Linked DNA regions of Homo sapiens: region 1 is linked to region 2. The links are contacts of gene promoters, found by promoter capture Hi-C in blood cells and fetal thymus (Javierre and others, 2016). All regions are on one chromosome and are shown on one strand. Each heading gives the region's core, a stretch centred on a gene start or on the middle of the fragment in contact. The rest is flanking DNA. Distances are from core to core; before and after follow the strand shown. Region 1 holds the start of LOC105370943 (a long non-coding RNA gene). Region 2 holds the start of MAPKBP1 (mitogen-activated protein kinase binding protein 1).

Evidence for each region. Contacts are between HindIII fragments. The CHiCAGO score rates a contact against its expected background, and 5 or more counts as called.
Region 1: a contact is called between a fragment that was not itself captured here and the fragment with the promoter of MAPKBP1 in region 2, in 1 of 17 cell types (neutrophils). The highest score is 6.9, in neutrophils.

Annotation. Positions count from the first base shown.
Region 1 is chr15:40,904,653-40,909,901 of GRCh38, forward strand. LOC105370943 (a long non-coding RNA gene) reads left to right here and starts at 2,157. Exons shown (of 2, transcript NR_135836.1): 1 at 2,157-2,233; 2 at 4,177-4,699. RefSeq lists enhancers at 1,519-1,813, 3,003-3,132 and silencers at 1,519-1,813, 1,743-2,082, 2,733-2,792. The HindIII fragment of the contact is 2,272 bases long and covers 1,241-3,512 here.
Region 2 is chr15:41,772,819-41,777,994 of GRCh38, forward strand. It overlaps MAPKBP1 (mitogen-activated protein kinase binding protein 1), which reads left to right and starts at 1,666. Exons shown (of 31, transcript NM_014994.3): 1 at 1,666-1,792; 2 at 2,349-2,571. The coding sequence starts at 2,458. RefSeq lists an enhancer at 1,113-1,162. The HindIII fragment of the contact is 7,491 bases long and covers 1-5,071 here.

The sequences.
Region 1 (5,249 bases), core at 1,127-3,626, 870 kb before region 2:
CCTCCCTCGAGTAGCCCTCAGGCATGCTAGATTTTGCTTGCCCCTCTGCCAGCTTGGATCCCCGCCTTCCCAGCTCCTGCCTGGCTTTAAGATGGCCCTGCCACTATCTGCCATTTAACCACAACGTTGAGGCCCAGCATGAAGGTGAGACTGCTGTGGCCTGTATCCATGGCATTTGGCAGACATGTTTTCTCATCTTGCTCCTGTGACCTGCTCCTCCCCACAAATTACACATCTTTAGTTGTGGCTAAATCCTAGGGAGTCCTGGAATGGGGTCTCCCCGTGACATCAGCAGAGCACCCTTTGCCCCATGGACCGGTGTTCACAGTGCACTGCCCAGCTCTCTGGGTGTGATCTGTCAGCTGGCAAGACAGTTCCTGCAGTCAGGCCAACCTCGCTGGCCACTGCAGGCTGCTTTCCCCTCCAGTCTAATCCTCTTCCTAGCCAGGCATGGGGTCTCACACTTGTAGTCTTAGCTACTTGGGAGTCTGAGGAAGGAGGATGGCTTGAGCCCAAGAGATGGAAGCTGCAGTGAATTATGATTGTGCCACTGCACTTCACCTGGGTGACAGAGCAAGAACCCTCTTTTTTTTTTTTGAGATGGCGTCTTGCTCTGTCACCAGGCTGGAGTGCAGTGGTACAATCTTGGCTCACTGCAACCTCCGCCTTCCGGGTTCAAGGATTCTCCTGCCGCAGCCTCCCTAGCAGCTGGGATTACAGGTGCACATCACCACGCCTGGCTACTTTTTTTATTTTTAGTAGAGACGGGGTTTCACCATGTTGGCCAGGCTGGTCTCGAACTCCTGACCTCAAGTGATCCGCCTGCCTCAGCCTCCCAAAGTGCTAGGATTACAGGCATGAGCCACTGTGCCCAGCTAGAACCCCTCCGCCTTTTTTTTTTAAAGAATTTTATCTCTGGCAATACAGGTTGAACTTTGCTGCAGAATTCCCTAACCACTAAAACAAGAGGATCTCTTCATGGACTCTGTTAGCTGAGAGGGCTGGAAGCTGCCCATTTTTGATGACCCCTCAGACTCCCGTCTTCCTCCAGAAGCAGAAGTGGGAGCAGATGTGGGGGAGGGGTCCCATTGAGTAGAGGGCATCCTAATTCTGTTCTTCGCACTGTCCCAGGAGGTTTGGAGGGCTCCTGCTTCCTTCTCCCCATGTGGCCTAGGCTCCCCTTACACCTACCATAGTCATCTGAGGGCTCAGGGTCTTTGTCCCCTGACAGTGAGTATAAAGCTTTAGCCTACCTCTGAAGGGGTCACTTTCTTAGAGAAAACAGACTGGGGCCTCTGTCTTTGCACATAATGGGTGCCTAATACTTGTTAGTTAAACAAACACTGCCCTATTGCTCCCTGCTCCCAGAGGGCTTGGCTAAAGCAGCTTGGGACACCCCTGCCCCTTCTGTCTTCTCCTAAGCCAGCCCATCTGGTCCTAGGCTGCTTCCTCTTTCCTGGGAAAAGGCCCCAGGCTTCCCTGGCAGGGACAGAATAGGGTTCCGGTGAGTCAGGGCAACGGGAAGCCACAGCTCTTAGATCCCTGGAAGCCAAGCAAGACATGGAATGGAGAGCAGAGCGGAGGCCCTCAGGGCTTTGGCCCTAAGCCTGGAGGGCCAGAGGGGGGTGGGGTGGGGGAGCAGCTGCGTGGGCAGGGGCCAAGATGAATGAGCTACTCCTGGAGCGGTCACTGGAAATAGAAGGAGTGGCCACAGGCAGTGACGCTGGGACCAGGGCAGGAGGCCTGTAAACAAGGAAGCCACCTGGGGGAGACGCAGGGCGGCCACTGGTCCTGGGGAGCAGGTGCTTCCTGAGGCCCGCCCTGGAGAGGGCCCTGGGGGCCGCCCCGCCGAGTCTGCAGTGGGCACTAGGGGGCGCCGTCTACCGGCTTCCCGAGCCCACCGCTCCCTACCCTGGCTCCTGGGGGTGTGGCCGCCGGAGGGTGTGCCGGCCCAGAGTCCCAGGCCCTGCCTGCCCGGCCTCTCCCTCCCTTCTCCTGTCACCGCGGCCGACTGGCCAAGGGCACCAGCCCTGGAGAGGGCACAGGGCTCAGCGTGGCCAGCTCGGATGTGAGCTCATTCCCCCGAGACCACCAGTTCTAGTTCCTGCCCCTCCCCCAAAGGCTCGGGTCGCAGGCTGGTGCCTGGCACCCACCCCAAAGGTTGGGAGGGGGCTCGAGGCCATCAGGCTCCAGGCCGCACTTGGCGCTGCCCCCTGGCGCCAGGGAAACAAAGGTTAGGGGCCCAGAGGGAGTTATCTGGCCCCACCGCCACCGGGTGGGGGAAGGGGACCAAGAGGGGGCGCAGTTCCCCTCCACTCCCCCAGCCCTACTGATTCTTCGAGACACTTTCACAGGCGGAAATTCCCAGAGGTCAGAGGAGGGAAACGGTTAATTCCTTTTATTCAATGGGTCCCCCCTACACGCCTCCCCCCAACTTCCTCCCTCCACTTCCCGCCCCCCCCTGTGTGAACAGGAAGTGGAGAGGAAAAGGCTCTGAGCGGAGCAGCTGGGAGCAGGAGGCAGGGAGTGGGCGGCGGGCTTGGTGCCAGCCCTGCCCCTCATGCTTACTTGCCGGAGGGCCAGGCCAACCGCGGCCTGGGAAAGAACCTGCAGCCCCGCTGGCGAGTGGCAGTTGAACCGGGAAACAGCAAACTCCATGCCCTCTTTCCTTAACCTGCTCCCAGGTTACAGGCTGCTGTCCTCAGGGTGCCAGACATCTTCTGCTCAAGAGCCAGCTGCCCTGGCCACCACAGCCCCACCTCCACCACCAGGCTGGGCATCCCGAGGCTGGCAGGCATCTCTTCAGGCAGCCGCCAGTCCTGGCACTGGCTCCCCCACTCAGCCCCTTGGCCCTGCCAGCCCTTTGAAGCTCATGCAGCGCTTCCTGTTTGGGGCGGGCGATGCCAGGGCCCCTCCCCCACCATTGTTCTGGAGAGACCATAGGTCCATCTGTTGCCCCATGGTGGGGCCCCTAGGCAGTGCCACACGGGAGCAGCACCACAAAGGACGCTGCTGGCAGCTTTGCTTATGTGGGGTGAGGCTGGGCCCTGCAGCAGGTTGAGGGTGAATGGTGGTCAGAGGCAGGCCTGGGGCGGGCACTGGGATAGGAGGATGCTAGAAAGTTCTGGTGCTTGGGCAGCTGGAGCCCTCAGCTTTCTCCTCCACCTGGAGCATGGAGATGATATTCAGGGAGCCATACGTGCTGAAGCCACCAGGAGAGGGCCACCATTCTCATGCCTGGATTCCCAAAAGGAAAACTGAGGCAGAGGGGCAAACTTTGGTCCAGGATGGCCAATAAAAGGGTCACAAAATAGGGTTGTCATTTCAAGGGGATTGGCCCCACTCTCTGAATGCCCAGTAATTGGGTGCTTTCCTCTCCCTGAGCAGCTTTACCGTGGCTCAGCTTTCACCTTGAACCAGCCCTTACTGAGCAGTCAGAAACCATACCGTGAGGTCAGGAGAGGCTGCGCGGCCTTAGTTTGGTGGCCAGCAACCCATGTCCACTGAGAATAAGCTTGGGCAGAGAAAAGGGAAAGGGGCACTGGTCTGGCCCCCCGGAAGGTGGCTGCTGCTTCTGGTTCCCAGGCTGCTGTGGCCAAAGGTCTGTTTGTGTTTGCCAGGTGCAGAGGCAGGTGGCTGCAGCTCACCTTCCCTCCATGGCATGATCTCCCAGCTCTGACCCTTGACCTGTTCCCTCGCGGCATCTCCACAGGGCTAGAAGGTGAACCCTACTTCCTTTACCAGGTCCTCTGGTTTCTCTTCCCAGGCCAGGACCTAAACCGTTCACAACTCCCAGCAGGCCAGAGCTGCAGAGACCTCAGATAGAGACTATAAAGTGCTGTGGAAGCCTTGTTCAAATAAAAACATTCATGAATGTCCAGTACTTGAAATTGGTATGCTGAGATTCTCCGATGGAAACTGGGCTGGAGGGACCCACACTCCTGTTCACTCAGCCTGTTCTCCACTCCTATCTCAATGTCTCTCTCTCTGTTTTTTTTTTTTTTTTTTAATAGAAACAACACCTTGTTCTATTGCCTAGGCTGGAGTGCAGTGGCGCCATCATAGCTCACTGCAGCCTTTAATTCCTGATCTCAAGTGATCCTCCCACCCCAGGCTCCTGAGTAGCAAGGACTACAGACACCACACCTGGCTAATTTTTATTTCTATTTTTTGTAGTGACGGGGGTCTTGCTAGGTTGCCAAGGCTGGTCTTGAACTCCTGACTTCAAGCAGTCCTCCCACCTCAGCCTCCTAGGGTGTCCGGATTACAGGCATGAGCCACTGTGCCCGGCCCCCTATCACGATATCCATAAGATGCCAGGATGCCCAGGAACCGAGTTTGAAAGACATTGTGCTGCTGATCCCACCTCCTGACTTTACAGCTGCTGAATTGCAGAAGACAAATTGGTAGCTAACAGGAGGCTCCATCCTGGATCCTGCCCCTGTCCGTGAGATTCAGCCTTGATTAACTGTGTTCCCATGCTGGTCGTGAGCAGGGCACCATCCTAGGTCCTTCTTTATACTCATTTTCCATCTCCAGCCAAAATGGGTTGAACCGAGGAACAAGGACATAATCTGTAAAGAGCAAGTGCAAGTCTCTGCTCTGCCATTACCAGCATCAGGCTAATCAAGCCCTTGGAAACTCAATTTCTTCTCCTGTAAAATGTGAATAACTGTTACAGACCTGGAAAGGCTCTTGTGAGGCTGAAATGAGAGCGGTGCCGCCCATCTGTCAAGGTAGCCCAGGGCCTGGCGCCCAAGCAGCCCTGGGCACTTGCCCCTCTTCCCTTTTACTCTGCACCTCCTTTCTGTAGGCGTAGGACCCTGAGACCTGTCCCAGCTCATCCCTCACAAGGCCCTCTGACTTCTTCAGATATCAGAGTGGAATTGGAAGAAAGAAGCTTGCTTGAGTAGGTTTTTCTGGTTTCTTGAACAATGGCGATTCTAAGGAAAAGAGGTTCAGGATGAGAATGAGAGGAAGCCCACAGGCATGTAGAATATGGCCACAGGTGGGACAAGAGTGCTTCCTTGGGATGGGGGTCCTGGTTCCCTGAAGGAAAGGAGACAGGGCACTACTCCAGCTCCAGGAGTCTCATAGGACAGGCCAAGAGGGCTGGGCAGACACCATGCTGGCCGCTGATCAGGCATGACTCCTCTGCCAGCCTGCCCTCGCAGGCCAGCCCAGAACTTGCACAACAGTCGGCCTGGCTGGCACTCTCCCGGGAGCTTCAGGAAGTCCCCCTTGTCCTC
Region 2 (5,176 bases), core at 416-2,915:
CTGGAGAGGATTAGGGACGGCTCTTGTGGGCACATTTTTACTCTAGTTTCATGGGTGGAGATGGCATCTGCCGTGGTCTGCAGCATGCAAGTAAAGACACCAGGTGGCACCATTTATTAGCTTTCAATCCCATGGAGAGGTCCCATCATGTAACTACCAAGAGGTTGAAGGAACCAACTACCTCTTGCATATTGTAGCTAATGGTTCTTGCCTTCTTCTTCCAGACTTGGGAAATAAATTTGAAAATCGTATTTTCTGTTTCATAATATTTGCAGTGCATGGTTGAAGGGAAGAAGGCCACGTGCTATTGCCAGTTGGTCTCCAGGAGGTGACATCCATCATCTCCATGTCAACTTGTGAGCTTTACAAATCTAATTTTCAGTACGTGGCTACAGTATACACAAGAAAATATGTGCTTTGCCACTTGGCTCTAAAGGCTCACCGTTGTACACAAGCAATGAGTTTAGGGGTTCTTCCCTCTTGTTATCACATGTCATCTCCACAGGGTTTCAAAAGATCTGGATAGGGTGAGACAGACACACCAGTGTAGTACTCCCTTGGGTCCCTTGTCTTTGGCTTAGGCTTTTTCATAAGGTATAATAATTTGTTAGAGGTTCTTCCCTCTTGCAGACACATGTCATCTCCACAGGGATTCAAAAGATCTGGATAGGGTGAGACGGACACACCAGTGTACTATTCCCTTGGGACCCAAGTCTCTGGCTTAGGCTTTTTCATAAGGTGATTTCTTGTGGTAGTAGTCAAGTGGAGAATACTCAGGAAATACTATTTCATGTAACATTTCCGTGTATTCCCTCTGCCTCCCCCGACATGAGTTAGAAAACTACCCCTCGATCTAGTATCAGCAAGCTCGACAGTGACCTCAGCAAGGAACAGCCCTAGATAAAAGGATTCATAAGTAAATGGAATGAGGAAAAGATCTGGAGCAACAAAGTCCTGGTCAGCTTTAGGTGAGGAAGCACAATGGGATGTTGGAGGCTAAAGAAGCCATGAAACCTAAAGTATTATAACATAGCATATTCACTTCTCTTTCCCCCGCACGCCCAAAGCTCTGTTCAAGGCCACCCTTTCCCCTTTCATGATGACCAGGTTGCCCAGTGCAAAAATACTGTTCTTAGCTATTAAATTGCATTACTCAGAATAATCCTTTCCACGTTGAGTCTACGTGCCGGACTGGCTGCGAGCAGAAACTACTTCAGTCGCTTTAAATCTCAACACTTGTGGTCGCTGGGAGCAGAGCTTTTAGGCTGTAGCTCAGTCTTGTAATTCTGAGCTAGGAGTTTCAGCTACGGTCCCTCGGGCCTATCAGATGACAACCTTAACACCCTGGAGGCGTGGTTATCGTCTTGGGGCTCTGGGAAGTGCAGTTCCATGGGGGACCAGGCCTGATAATACCATAAAAGGCTTGGTTCTCTCAATTCTGAAGCCATGTTCTGTTGACCTTCCTCTAAAAGCGGTACCCGCAATTGTGCGGATTCCGTGGTTCCCTAGTCCCAAGCCGTCTGCTTCCTGGGCCCTTTCATTGGCTCCGCCCCCGTAAACCTTGCTCGTCCACTCTGGAAGCGCTCTCCTGACTACAGGCCGCGCCCCTCGCGTCGGCTCCGCCCACCCAGCCCGCGGCTTGGCCCAGGCGGTAGTTCGCGTTTTGAGCCGATCGTGCCACCATAGCTCCTGCTGCTGCCTCTACCGCTGCGGCTACCGCGGCGGAGCTGAAATTGCCGAACGCGATGCCCGAGGGCGCTGTGAGCGGGGTGGCCTTAGCTCGCCGAGGCTGGTGAGGCTGGGCCCGAACGGGGGCGCTGACGAGTAGCAGGGGCCTCAGAGGCGGGTGAAAGATAAAGGTCCAGAGCCGCTGTGGAGGGCGGAGAGCGAGCTCTGGAGGATAGGGAGTGGGGGAGGGAGGCTCCCGTGGCAGAACGAGTTGTGGGCTACGGCGAGCCCCGCCGCGTCCCCGCCGGCGCTAGCGCAGGTGTCCAGGCCTGCGGAAATCCCTGGTGGTCTCGGCGGCCTCCTCCCTTGGACACTACAGTTGCCATGGGAACAGTTGGGCATTAACGGGAACCAGATCGTCCACGAGACCAACTGGGGCCCATCCCATCCATCTCGCCAGTTAAACGCCTCTGGCGGGCGTGGGCCTGGCATTTCTTCGTGGCTTAGGATTTTCCCCCCCTTTTTCGTGAGCCTTTCCTTCCGACGTTGTAAGAAACTGTGCAGGGCTAGAAGGTGGGGATGAGGGAAATGGTGAGAGCAATACCCAGAGGTAAAAGCTGCAGACTTCGCTAGGCAGAAGGTAAGACACTGTGATACTAAGGTGGCTTCTGCCATCTCAGGTCAGTGAGAGGGCATACTGGGAAGCCCTCTGGAGTGGGAAGACAGTGCCGCTGTTGAGACAAGACCCAGGACTGGGCCGGGGACTGTCCCAAAGGGTTTCTCGTCATAATGGCTGTGGAAGGGTCAACCATTACCAGCCGGATCAAGAATCTGTTGAGATCTCCATCCATCAAACTGCGCAGGAGTAAGGCAGGAAACCGACGAGAGGACCTCAGCTCCAAGGTGAGTCCTGTTGGGATCCACCTCTTTCCAAACCCACCCTCTCCTGCTCCATGTTCCTCGTTAACCTTCCTGTTTCTTGGGAAAGATAACTAGAAGCCCTTGTTGACTCTAAAGGATCACATATGATCTCTGCAGGCAATGATTTGGTTTTAGGTTGAAGGAAAAAGAGCAGCAGGGGTGGGCATGCTGAGATTCATCCATGAGAAAAGGTGAATAGTAGGAAGACCACCTGGGTTCAATTGTGGCCTCACTATACACTAAGCATGTGCTTGGGAAGCCAGTTGATATGCTATGACTCAGTTTCCCTTCTTGGGAGAGGACAGTAGGAACACATACCTTGTGAAGGGCTAAGCTGTGACTAATGTAGCTGCAGGTGTTAACGTAACAGCTGGGGTTATGTAAGACTGTAGTGGCAGAAAGAAATATGCTAAAACACCTAGTCAGAGTTACTGGCTTGGTAATTGCTCTTGCCTACGGTGAAAACAAATTTTTTTTGTCTCTTCAAGAGGCTAACTGGAGCCTTTTGGCTTCTTAGGAATAACATGCAAGAAGCCAGATATCTGTCAGCAAAACAGTTCTGGATGGCCCTTGAGCATTGCTTATCTCATTCACTATATGCCAAGAGCCACATCCCACTCAGCTGCAGATGATCCTCAGAGGCAAAGTTCCTTTCCATCGCTTCACTTGTCTGTGTTTTGGTCCTTATGCTTTTTCAACTAAATAAACCCCACAACTTTGGGAATCCAGAAGTAGTCGACATTTATTTAATCCCTTGAGGGAATCCAGGGCTTTACTCCCACAGGATCAGATCAGATTTTGTGTCTTATTAGTAGCCTGTAAACCCAATAGGGTTGTGAGGTACAAGGTTGTTACAGGGAGAGGCATTTGAGACCACAGCATTGTATTGCTTTGCCTGTATCTCTTCAGTGATGAGTAAATCCCATGAGGAATGATTTAGAATGCCACTGTACAAATGGCAGGGTTCTGGGAGGACTTAGTTCAGCCCTGTGTTCCTTAGCAGAACTTTGAGTAGATTTGGTAAGAAGGTGAAGAGCTTTCCTGTATATTTCAGCAGAAGTTGTGTTGAATCACAGTTTGCTACAAGGTTTTGTGATGGTGGACATTGTGACCCTTCCAAGGTCTCTTATTCATCATTGTTTCTATTCTCCTGAGGCAGGCAAAGAAGCCTGAAATGTAGAAATTGCCTTAGATATGACTCTGTTCATTCTTAATACTGCAAGTGCTCTTATTCTTGGCTGGTAGCTTGGCAGTGACCAGCACTGTTAGAGCAATCTTCTCCAATCTTTGGCCTCTTTTTCTGGCCAGGAATGATATATGTAGTAGAAACATATAATGAGAGTTTAGCCTTCATTGTTAATTCTTACTGTAATTTTGGTCTGGAATCCAGAAAGTATAGTTGCCATTCTTTAAGACTTCCAATATCATCCATTATTAATGCATTTAACAAGTGTTTATTGAGTGCCTATGAAGTGTGCAATCAGTGATGGGTAAAACATTACCCTTGCCATCAAAGAGCTTATGGCTAGTCAGACATGTAAACAATTAAAACACGGTGTGGTAAGTGCTGCTGTAGAAGTATGTGTACGTTGTTAATGGAAGCACAGGGGAGGCGACCTAAGTCAGTTCAGAGGAATTAGGAAAGGCTTCACAGGCCAGGCATGGTGGCTCACCCCTGTAATCCCAGCACTTTGGGAGGCCAAGGCGGATGGATCACTAGGTCAGGAGTTCGAAACCAGCCTGGTCAAGATGGTGAAACCTCATCTCTACTAAAAATACAAAAATTAGCCGGGCGTGGTGGTGCATGTCTGTAATCCCAGCTACTCGGGAGGCTGAGGCAGGAGACTCGCCTGAACCCGGGAGGCTGAGGTTGCAGTGAGCTCAGATCCTGCCAGTGCACTCTAGCCTGGGTAACAGAGCAAGACTCCGTCTCAAAAAAAAAAAAAAAAGGAAAGGCTTCACAGAGGAAGGGATGCTTGAACTGTGAGTCCTAAGGCAGGTGGAGAAGAGCTCTCCAGGAAAACAGTGGAAAAGGGGCATCCCTGGCAAGACCATTTACCATTCCCTGTTTAAAATAGGAATTCAGTGCTTCAGACTGCTTTAGATGGCTTTGTCTGTCCTGAAGCTGTGTATGAAAGAAATACTTAGCTGAAGTTGAATGACCCTTGAATGGTCTGGCAGCAAAATGACTGGTGCATATCTTTAGCACCCAAGAGGAGTAGCTGTCTTTGTGCGCCCAGGACCCTAGAGATGCCAGACTCCCCACACTCCTTAGTAAAAGGTCTCTACCTGAGATTATTCTAAAAGCCTGCCTTGTGATTACTCTAGTGTATTAAGCTCTGTGAGTTGCTCTAACATGTGGTGGCTGTGAGTAATCATGATAACAGGAAATTTGTGATTCATGGATAGCTAATTCTCAAATAAAATTTGAAGACAAAAAGGTACATGCCCCTTTTGGGGGGCAAAGAAGGAAATGTCAGAAAGCTTTTATGCAGCTCTTACTTCAGATGGCCTCCTGCTTTGAATTATACTGTTCTTTCTATCTAAAGTAGCCTTCTCCTTTACACCAAATTGTACACTTATTTTT